Regions from separate parts of the Homo sapiens genome. Here regions 2, 3 and 4 are each linked to region 1. Evidence: promoter capture Hi-C in 16 types of primary human blood cells and fetal thymus (Javierre and others, 2016). All regions are on one chromosome and are shown on one strand. Each heading gives the region's core, a stretch centred on a gene start or on the middle of the fragment in contact. The rest is flanking DNA. Distances are from core to core; before and after follow the strand shown.

The links. Contacts are between HindIII fragments. The CHiCAGO score rates a contact against its expected background, and 5 or more counts as called.
Region 2: a contact is called between the fragment with the promoter of ANKRD13A here and the fragment with the promoter of SLC15A4 in region 1, in 1 of 17 cell types (neutrophils). The highest score is 7.8, in neutrophils.
Region 3: a contact is called between the fragment with the promoter of MED13L here and the fragment with the promoter of SLC15A4 in region 1, in 1 of 17 cell types (neutrophils). The highest score is 10.0, in neutrophils.
Region 4: a contact is called between a fragment that was not itself captured here and the fragment with the promoter of SLC15A4 in region 1, in 1 of 17 cell types (M0 macrophages). The highest score is 9.1, in M0 macrophages.

What each region holds. Positions count from the first base shown.
Region 1 is chr12:128,822,611-128,825,253 of GRCh38, forward strand. SLC15A4 (solute carrier family 15 member 4) reads right to left here and starts at 1,348. Exons shown (of 8, transcript NM_145648.4): 1 at 788-1,348. The coding sequence starts at 1,333. It overlaps LOC124903083 (a long non-coding RNA gene), which reads left to right and starts at 1,334. Exons shown (of 2, transcript XR_007063602.1): 1 at 1,334-2,643. RefSeq lists an enhancer at 1,099-1,258. The HindIII fragment of the contact is 5,029 bases long and covers 1-2,494 here.
Region 2 is chr12:109,998,114-110,000,756 of GRCh38, forward strand. It overlaps ANKRD13A (ankyrin repeat domain 13A), which reads left to right and starts at 1,317. Exons shown (of 15, transcript NM_033121.2): 1 at 1,317-1,671. The coding sequence starts at 1,576. It also overlaps a transcript of GIT2 not described here. RefSeq lists an enhancer at 1,041-1,230 and silencers at 1,311-1,430, 1,441-1,530. The HindIII fragment of the contact is 22,332 bases long and covers 1-2,643 here.
Region 3 is chr12:116,276,401-116,279,043 of GRCh38, forward strand. It overlaps MED13L (mediator complex subunit 13L), which reads right to left and starts at 1,293. Exons shown (of 31, transcript NM_015335.5): 1 at 660-1,293. The coding sequence starts at 731. RefSeq lists silencers at 1,122-1,591, 1,642-1,701. The HindIII fragment of the contact is 4,130 bases long and covers 18-2,643 here.
Region 4 is chr12:118,347,912-118,350,554 of GRCh38, forward strand. The region is part of intron 1 of TAOK3 (TAO kinase 3); the gene reads right to left. Among named protein-coding and RNA genes, the nearest start is that of TAOK3, 24 kb to the right of the region's middle. The HindIII fragment of the contact is 4,674 bases long and covers 1-2,643 here.

The sequences.
Region 1 (2,643 bases), core at 98-2,597:
GGCGCGATCTCGGCTCATCGCACCTCTGCCTCCCGGGTGCAAGCGATTCTCCTGCCTCAGCCTCCCGACTAGCTGAGAGAACAGGTGCCCGCCACCACGCTCGGCTAATTTTTGTATTTTTAGCCAGGCTGGTCAGGCTGGTCTCGAACTCCTGACCTTAGGTGATCCACCCACCTCGGCCTCCCAAAGTGTTGGGATTACAGGCGTGAGCCACTGCGCTCAGCGTATTTTTTAAATTTTATTTATTTATTTTTTTGAGGTGGGGTCTCACTCTGTTACCCAAGCTAGAGTGCACTGGTGTGACCCTAGCTCACTGCAGCCTCCGAAACTCGTAGGCTCAAGGAATCCTCCTTTCTCTGCTAGGACTACAGGTGTGCGCCTCCACGGAGGGCAAATTTTTAAATTTTGGTAGAGATGAGGTCTCACTGTGTTGCCCAACCTGGTCTCAAAGTCCTGGGCTCAAGAGATCCTCCCGCCTCGGCCTCCCAAAGTGCTGGAATTACAGGCGTGAGCCACCGCGCCCGGCCTCTCTTTTCTTTAAAGCCACTGTGGCCATCACTGTGTGTGTAGACCTCACCCCGCCCCAGGCAAACCCCTTCCAGCACCCATCACACCGGTACCTCCAGTCTTGGCCCACCTGCTGGCGGGATTCCTCGGCACTAGACAGAAGCCCCCCGGGGCAAGGGGCTCCCTCCGCGGTCAGAGGCAGGGACTGGGGCAGGGGAAGAGGCTGGGGCTGGGCAGGGGCTGGACAGGGACAGGGACAGCGCGCGGGGGCGCGGCTCACCTGGTCGGCGCCGAAGGGCGTGATGTTGGCCTTGACGGTGGCCACGCCCAGGCCCACCAGCACCAGCCCCGCGAAGGTGGCCGGTGAGCAGCAGCGGGCGGCGGCGTCGGGACCAGGCGCCGTGCAGTTGAGCAGGCGCGCGGAACCGCAGAGCGCGGCTCGCGTGGCGGGCGCGGCCAGCAGCGGGAAGGCCAGCATGCCCAGCAGGTAGAGCGCCAGGCTCAGCAGGATGGCGCGCGCCCGGCCCAGCCGCGCGTCGGCCAGCCAGCCTCCGAACGGCGAGCCCAGGTAGGTGAGGCCCATGAAGAGCAGCAGCGCCTCGCTGGCCTGCGCGCCCTCCCAGCAGAACGGCGCCCCGTTCAGGAATAGCACCAGGTTGGACGTGATGCCGTAGAAAGCGGCGCGCTCCAGCAGCTCCGTCAGCAGCACGGCCCCGCACGCCGCGCGCCGGCCCGCGAACGCCCCAGCCGCCGCCGCGGCCGCCGCCGCCCGCCGCGCGCCCAGCAGCGGCGCCCGCTCGCCCGCACCGCCCCCAGAGCCCTCCATGCGACGCCGCCAGCTGCCTCGCCCCGCCGCCGGGTCACCTGTCCCAGAACCCAGGGCCGCCGCCCTTCTCGCGAGACTGCCGGGCCTGAGATGTCCCTATTGGGCGGGCTCGCCGCTGCTCAACGCCCCACTCGCCGGAACTTCCGGCCCCGCCCCGGGCACTAGGCGAGGAGGTGGCCGGTATTCTGGATCACTGCGTGTCTTGGGGAGCTTGGGATTCCGCAGCTTGGCGGCCGAGAGCCTTTGTTTGCCTTTTTGAGACAGGGTTTCCCTCTCTCGCCCAGGCTGGAGCGCAGTCATGCGGTTACGCCTCACTGCAGCCTCAGCTTCCCAGGATCAAGCGGCCCTCCCACCTCAGCCTCCCGGGTAGCTGGGACCGCAGGCGCTCGCCGCTGCCTGTGGCTAATTTTTAAACAGTTTTTTGAAATGGGGTCTCGCTTTGTTGCTCAGGTTGGTCTCGAACTCCTGGCATCAAGCGTTCCTCACGTCTCAGCCTCCCATAGTGTTGGAATTACGTGCATGAGCCACTGCAGGCAGTCGGACTAAGGGAGTTTAAACAAAGAAGCCGGAGCCTGGCCCTCTTCGGGCTTCGGTGGGGCCCAGTAGGCAGCCAAAACTCACACTGAGACGGCGGCTGCTCTCCAGGCGGGTTTGCTCAGGCTGCCCCCGTGCTCCCTGCCCTGGGCTTCAGTCCTGGAGAGGACCCGGTTTCTCAACCCGTGCATCGTTGGCACTTTGAGCGACGGGACTGTCCTGTGCGTTGCACGATGTTCAGCAGCAGCTTTGGCCTCTGCTATCCACTAGGGGCCAGTTCCACCCCCTAGCACCTCAGGTTAACAACCGAAAATGTCTTCTAGACTTTGCCGAAGGACTCCTGGGGGCAAATACGCCCCCATTGAGACTCACTGGCTTAGAACAAGGCAAGCTCCAGCCTGTTTCAGGCTTTCCCAGAGACTGCCCCTACACCATCTATGGTTGCATGGCTGGCTTCTCATCCTTCAACCTTCCACCGAAGTGTTGACTTCAGAGAAACATTTTTTTCACTAGCCTGTCCAAGGCCCGAGTATCCCATTCCATCATGTTACTCTTTTCTCCTTATTACCTGTTACATTTTTTAATTTATTCGTTTATCTCCCCAACCTGCATGTGTTAACAGGTGTAAGCTTCCTGATGGCAGGATTCTCTTGTGTTTTGTTCCTCACTGTGCCCCCTGCCTCTGGGACAGCGCCTGGCACATAGTGGAGTGAAAGAGTGCCGCCCAAAAATGGCCCTCAGCATGGCTTCAGAAATTGAGACCCCGGCCTGGGATG
Region 2 (2,643 bases), core at 67-2,566, about 19 Mb before region 1:
AGTTGCAAAAGGCATCTGAAAGAATGAGAAGTGCTGGAAAAGGCCTCAGAAGCACTGGTCTTGAGTCCATCTCTACAGTGTGATAAATGTGTGATGGAGAAATAATCACAGAATTCCCACGCATTCCATGGTTAGAGTCTCCGGGTGCCATCCTGGTGCTCCTGCATCCTGTTTTGGTTTAACAACTCACAAATCTTCTGGGCTCCACATCTGTGGAGAATGGATTAGGTTGGGATTCTTGAACAGCTGTTGTTGCAGGCATCTGAAGAGCTGGATGTGCATACACTCAGAGGGCAGAGGGAATGTTTTCACAATGCATTAAATAGCTTCATCCAGCTATGTGGTCTAGTTGTAGACAGCTGAGCTGAAGCAGCAGCAGAAAGTTCAAGCCCATGAGTAGCTAGCTGTAAGTTGATTTGGTTCTTCATTGAGTCAAGGAGGCATAGTGCCTGAAACTCAAAGAATAAACTTCATATTCGCAGACTGTGGTCAAATATGTATATTATTTATCAGTCCTTTCAGCCATAACCTCAAATCCAAAAAGCTAGCTTAAAAATGACATTCATACATGGACTAAATCACCACCATAGTTAGCTATTGAATCATAACCCGGTTCGGAGTTCAAATAGAAGCGGTTCTCAACTGAGGACGATTTTTCTCCCCGAGACGACATTTGGCAATATCTGGAGAGACATGTTTTGGGGAGTGCTACTGGCATTGAGTGGGGAGAAAGACCAGGGCAACTGCTCAGCATCCTACAAGGACCGGACAACCCCCACACAAAAACTGCCCAGTTCAATATGTGCCGAGGTTGAGAAATCATGAAGTAGAAATATCCCCTTTTATGCAAATACTGTATTTGAAGCCACTTCGCCAGGGTTTAGCGTTCCTCCTTCAAAAATTGTCCGGTGTTGCCCACTTCCAAAATGGCTTTTGACCCGTCGTGGAAGCATCTGTCCTGCTCCAAAAAGGCTGCAAGGGTGTCGGCAGCTGGAATGGTTTGGTCCGGGGCTCAGTTGTCACCCCCTGACTTCAGAGCCAATGGAAGAGGCCCAGTTGTGGACCGAACCACATGGGGCTACTGGAGCAGGGGGAAAGAAGCTGGGGACAGGTAGACGGAACTTTCCGCGTGGAGATCTTTGGCCAAGAGAATGAGCCTCAGCTCTGTTCTGTGGGCTGCACTGAGTTTCTCGGTGTGAGCTGGAGGTGGGTGCAATGGCGCGGACCCCGGACCCGGTGCCCAAGGTCGCCTATCCCCGCCGCGGCATGCGGTGGTTCGCTCTCCGCACTTCCCTGTTTGGGGCAGTTAGGTCCGCAGAAGTCTGTCCGCGAGCTGTCAGCGCGGGCGGGAACGCCGCGGGGCGCGGGGTGGGCGCGGCCGACCTGGTCCCTGAGCCGGCCGGCGACCCCGGACCTCCCGCGCGCCCCGCACCCGACCGGCTCAGCCGGCCGGCAGCGTAACACGCCCTACGCTCGCTTGCTCGCCGGCCTCAGGGCAGGCAGGCGGGCGCGGGAGACCCCGCCGGGGCCGAGACTTGGGGCGGGCGACGAGGACCAGGTTACGGCCTCCTCGCCATGTCCTCGGCCTGCGACGCGGGCGACCACTACCCCCTGCACCTCCTAGTCTGGAAAAACGACTACCGGCAGCTCGAGAAGGAGCTGCAGGGCCAGGTGAGGGGCGGGGCGGGGGTCCGTCTCCCGGTGGGGACTTCGGGGAATCGGGGGTCGTTTCGCCTCCCTGAGCCCATTTCCAGCCCTCTGTCCCCGGGATCCCCAGACCCCTTCCACTTTGCAGGTGTGGGACAGTCCTAATAATAGGACACGTATCGAGTGCTTACCGTGCGACGGGCTTTTTAAATATCTTCTCTCTTCACCTTTCCAATAACGCTGGTGGGTAGGTACTGTTACTTTTCCACTGGACAGAGAAGGAAACAGGTCCTCAGACGCTACGTGCCTTGTGCGAGGCCGCCCCGCTGATAAATGCCAAGTCGGGATTTTAACTCGGGCCGGCTGGCTCCGGAATGCACCGTCTTAACCATTTTTAGGTTCTGCTGCCTCAAAGACGTAAGAATAGCACACTCTCCTTGTTGTAAGGAAGGGCTTGGTTGGTTTTGGAGTCCAGGTTCTAACTCGCCCTGTGACCTTGGGCAAGGCATTTTCCCTCTCTGGCCGACGTTAACTTAGCTGTAGAATGAGGATGTTGGTGCTGGGGCAGAACCCAACACTTGACTCTATTGATAGGTCTGGGGTGAGGTCCAGGTGCCGCATTTTTAACAAACTCCCCAGGGAGGCTGATACCTAGCAAAGTTTGAGAATCACGGGTTCTCAGGCTCCTTAAAATCCCTTCCTGTTCTAAAGTGCTTTGATGCTTTAATCTTTTCATTATTGCTATCTCTTTAAAGCAGTAGTGCTCTCAGTTGGAGGTGATTTTGCACCCACGACCCCCCGGGGACATTTGGCAATGTATGGGACATTTTTGGTTGTTGAAAGTGGGGAGTGGGTGCTTCTGGTAGTGGGTAGAGGCCGGTTATGCTGCTCAACATCCTACAATGGCCAAGACAGCCCCCCGCAACTAAGACTTCTCCGGCCCCCAAAGCCGACAGCGTCTTGGTTGAGAAACTCTGCTTTTCTTTCTTTCCTTCT
Region 3 (2,643 bases), core at 43-2,542, about 13 Mb before region 1:
GGAGAGAAAGAAGAAAAAGCTTTCTCCACCTTCCGTCGGCTCGGTGCAATGGCTTTACGGCTCTCCAGCATAGTAAGCCCCGAGAGGCAGGCGGCTGTCGATGTTTACAATCGCGGGAGCTTCGGGTGCAAGAGTCCTTTCCTGACACAATCGCATTCAATCAACTATTTTAGGGCGAAATTGCAGGTGTCATTATGGAATTTAAAAAAATTCAAAAGGCAGGCGGGCGGGCAGGCAGCTGATCCAACAACGGGGGAAGAGGTTGCCGATCGGAGGCGCGGCAGCACAAGGCAAAGCCTTCCACATTTACGGGGGGAAAAAAAGGGGGGAAAGGGGAGGAGAAGGGGAGTGCGATTGCAACAGAGGGTGGGCGTTCGAAGTGCGACCCAGAATCCGCAGCTCCGAGACTTCCACATGCAAATTCCACGCCGAGCGCCGCGCTCACAAATGATTTTTAAAGAGCCAAATAAACACTGGATGGGATCCAAGGCGAGAGAGAGACGATCCAAAAGGGGGAGAATCGGCGAGAGGCGAACGGCGGGGAGACGCGAGGGAGGGGCGAAGTCCCGGCGGCGGGAGGAGAAAGTTGGTCGGCGGCGGAGGTCGGGGACCCCCCCCCTTCCCCGGCACAGCCCCCTCCCCGCAGCCCGGCTACTCACCAGCGAAAAGAGGTTGGAGTGACAATCCTCCAGGCTCGCCCCGTTCGCCACCCAGTTCGCTGCCGCAGTCATGATCCTCCGCGAGCCCGGCCGCCAGAGCGGGGCATGTCGGAGCGAGGCGTCCGAGGCGAGGCCGGGCCGGGCGGCGGCGCCTCGCCGGGGAGCGCGGGGCGGCCGGGCCGCCGCCGCCGCCGGGGGAGGGCGCGAGGGCCGGCGGGCAGGCGGGAGGCGCCGCGGCGACGCCGCGCCGGGGGCAGCGGGCCCGGGCTGGCGGGGGGGGCGCGCGCCCCGGGCCGGCGCTGCGGGCCGGCCACCGCCTCCGCCTTCCCTGCTCCTCAGCCGCCGCCGCCGCCGCTGCTGCCGCTGCCGCCGCCTTGTTTATCTCCAGCCACCGACTCCCCCTCGGCCCCCGCCGGCGCGCGAGGGGAGGCGAGCCCCGGAGCCGCCGCCGCCGCCTCGGAGCCGCCGCCGCCGCGGAGCGCGAACTCGCGAAGGGGGGGGTGCGGACGAAGCCAGCGGGCGACCCCGGCAGCCGAGCGACGTCCCCTCCTTCCTCTTCCTCCCCCACCCCCCCCTCCTCCCCAGTCAGCCTCGCTTCTCCTCCCTCCCCGGGCTCGCTTGCTCTGACAGCAATGGCGGCCGCCGACCGCGGCTCGGCCCGCCATTGGCTGGCGCTTGGTCACGTGACGGGCGCCGGCCGCGCGGGGGGAGCGAGGGGCGGGCGGGGGAGGGGTCCGGAGTGGCGGCGGCGGCGGCGGCTCGCGGGAGGCGCTGCTGAGCTGAGCGCGGCCGGGTCCTCCGGCCGGGAAGAGGGAGGGAGGGAGGCAGAGAGGGAGAGAAAGAAGTGCGGGCGGCCGGGCTCCCCGGCGGGCGGCGGACTGCCGGCCCGTGGCTGCCGTGGGCTGCCCCTCGTGGCCGCCCCGCCCCCTCGCGGTGCACTGATCGTGGCGGGGCGGGACCGTGGGTCCCGGGCGCGCCCGTGGTGGCCGCGGAGGAGGGCGCGGGACCCCCGGCCTGTGCCCTCGCAGCCCAGGCCGGCTGGCGTGGCGCGGCGGCCGCGATGTGGGCCAGGCAGCGGGTCCGAGTGCCCTGGGGAATGTGTCCTCAGAGGCTCGCGCCGCCGTCCGCCTTTTGCAGAGGAGAAAACTAAAGCACAAAGGGATTAAATCACTTGCCCGAGGTCGCACACTTGGGAAGAGGAGTCCAGATTCGAACCCGCGCACAGTGAAGCCAAGCTCTTGGACAAGGTTTCACAGGCTTCGCCCAGGGATATTCACGGCTGCCATAGACGGAGCGCTTACTGTGTTCCAGACACTGTGCGTTTAATACAGAAATGTTTATTGAGCCCTTACTCCTAGTTACTGTGTGCACTCATTCATTCATTCATTCATTCATTACATAAATGTTTCCTGAGCTCCTGCTGTGTGCCAGAATCTGTTATAACTTCCAGGCACTGTGCTAAGGCCGTGTTGGGAGCAGACCCTTCTTCCTGGCGTCATTCATTGGATAACCAACATTTCCTGAGTGTATATGGCCTGGGAGTCCGGAGGAGTGCTGCTATGAAGAGAAGCTCTCCCAGTCCTCAAGAAATGGATCCCCGAAAAGGGGGAGGAGAAAACAATGTCTTCACTAATACGCCTCCAAACATGGAACAATCAGCTGTTTCAGGTAGATTAAGCTAAAAGAGGAAGAGTGGATGGCTGGCACAGTGGCTCACGCCGGTAATCCTAGCCGAGGTTTAAGACCAGCCTGAGCAATGTAGCAAGAACCCCCGTCATGACAAAAAAAATAAAATACAAAAATACAAAAATTAGCCAGGCGTAGTGTGGCATGTGCCTGTAGCCCTAGCTACTCGAAAGGCTGAGGTGGGAGGATAACTTGAGCCCTGGAGGCAGAGGCTGCAGTGAGCCCAGTGAGCCGAGGTCGCATCACCGTACTCCAGCCTGAGTGACAGAGAGAGGCCCTGTCTCAAAAAAAAAAAAAA
Region 4 (2,643 bases), core at 85-2,584, about 10 Mb before region 1:
GAGTAATCTTTCAAAGGCTCTGATTGCATCAGTCTTTTCTATTCAAATATCTTAAATGGTTCCTCACTATCTACTGTTCAAAGTTCAAACCTCCTGTTATGTGGCTCTAAGGCTTTTGATTTGCCACTATCCCTGAATATCCTACATTTTGTTCACTATGTCTGTAGGCCAAAAAATACATTGATTATGTCCACCACGCCTGCTGAAAAGGTATCCACAATTCAAGACTCAGTTCAAACTCCATCTCCATGTTACCCCATCTCCCTAGTACGGAAGTAATCTCTTCCTTCTTCATGTATAGAAAGTACCTGACAGCTTCTTGCTGACCTTGATGTCATTCTATTTTGCCTTTAAAGGACATGGACCTTTCTTAATTCCATTAATTGAATATGACTTGCATCAGGATTCTTATTCGCTTTCCATAGTGCCTTCAATGGAGGAGGCAGTGTTAAACACAGACTATTCATCTGGAATTAAAGACTACTTGTCCAGCCTCTGAGCTAAAGTCTAAGTCTGCTTCTGCCTTATTTCTTTCTTTCTTTCTTTTTTTTTTTTTTGAGACGGAGTCTCGCTCTGTCACCCAGGCTGGAGTGCAGTGGCACAATCTTGGCTCACTGCAAGCTCTGCCTCCCGGGCTCACGCCATTCTCCTGCCTCAACTACCCGAGTAGCTCGGACTACAGGTGCCCGCCACCACGCCTGGCTAATTTTTTGTATTTTTAGTAGAGACAGGGTTTCACCATGTTAGCCAGAATGGTCTCGATCTCCTGACCTCTTGATCCACCCGTCTCAGCCTCCCAAAGTGATGGGATTACAGGCGTGAGCCACTGCGCCCAGCCTCTGCCTTATTTCTGAAGAAAAGATATGGGATAAGAATTAGCTAAATACACAATATTATGTGTGTTTTTGTGAGGGGGGAGAAAAAAAATAATTTCTTTTTTTTTTTTTTTTTTTTGAGAACGGGTCTCACTCTTGTTGCCCGGGTCTCACTCTTGTTGCCCGGGTCTCACTCTTGTTGCCCAGGCTGGAGTGCAGTGGCGCGTTCTTGGCCCACTGCAACCTCTGCCTCCCAGGCGGTTCAAGCAATTCTCTTGCCTCAGGCTCTTGAGTAGCTGGGATTACAGGTGCTCACCACCACACCCAGCTAATTTTTGTATTTTTAGTAGAGTTGGGGTTTCACCATGTTGCCCAGGCTGGTCTCAAACTCCTGACCTCAGGTGACCGCCCACCTTGGCCTCCCAAAGTGCTGGGATTACAGGCATGAGCCACCGCGCTGGCTGATTCAAATCATTTCAAAGCATTTTCATTTTAATTATTTTACAAAAAGTAATTATGAGCAATTCCACTCTAGGTATATACCCAAGAGAATGGAAAAATATGTTCATTTAAAAACTTGTATATTTACTGTCACAGAAACATTATTAATATCCAAAAAGTAGAAGCAGCCAAAATATCCATCAACTCTTGAATAATCAGAATGTGGCACACAGATATAATGAAATATTATTTGGCCATAAAAAGGAATCATCACTGATGTACGCTACAATGTGGATGAATCTTGAAACATTATGCTAAGTGAAGATGTCAGACACAAAAAGACACATATTGTCTTGTTCCAGTTATACAAAATGTCCAGAGTAGGCAAATCCATAGAGACAGAAAGTAAATTAGTGCTTACCAGGGGTTGGGGATAATTGAGAGTGGCTGCTAACAGGTACAAAATTCTTTTTGGTGTAATGAAAATGTTCTAGAGTTAGATAGTGGTGAGGTTAGATATTGTAACAACATCACAAATATACTAAAAACCTGAATTTCATAATTTAAAAAGGTAAGTTTTATATCATAAAATTTTATCTAAATTAAAAAAAACACAAAAAACAGTTATTAGTTTCATGCCCCAAATGACAGCTTCAATTTGTGGTATAAAGGAAAAGAGCTCTGACCTTTCAATCAGCAAATCTAGGTTTCAGCCAAGTCACTTAACTCTCTTACTTAACTGTGGCGTCTTTAGGATGCAGCTGAACTTCTCTAAGCCTTCATAACCTCATCTACAAAGTGAGGATATAATGCCTTACAAAGTCACTGTGAGACTCACAATATAACATAAAATTATTATTTCAAATGAATAAAATCTGATAGTTATTTTGCATGCCTAAAATGATTTTTTAAAAATCCTAAACTGTATTGAATAGCCCATAACTTCACTGAATAGTCCACAACTTTTTATTGTTGCCATGTTATCTAACCAGCTTTTGTATTGTCATATATGAATGACATCTTGGGGCCACGTAGCACTTATCCTGTAGGCACTAATAGAACAGTACAGAGTTATTTAATTCCAATCTTCACAATGAGGGGTACATGGCCCAACAGTTATAAACACAGGCATAGAACTGAGTTTAAGTCCAGGTTCTGCCACAGATCTTGAACAAACCACCTAACCTCTCTGAACATCAGTATACACCCCTGTAAAGTCTATGTAAGAATATGTATGTGAATCTACACAAATATCCATTATAGAGGTTCGTTGAGATACTCATTATATAAAGCATGTATTGTAATACCTAGCACCTAACAAGCACTCATTCAGCAATTGTTATTGTTGTTGTCCATCCTATGGAGTAACAAGTTTAAATGACGGGTC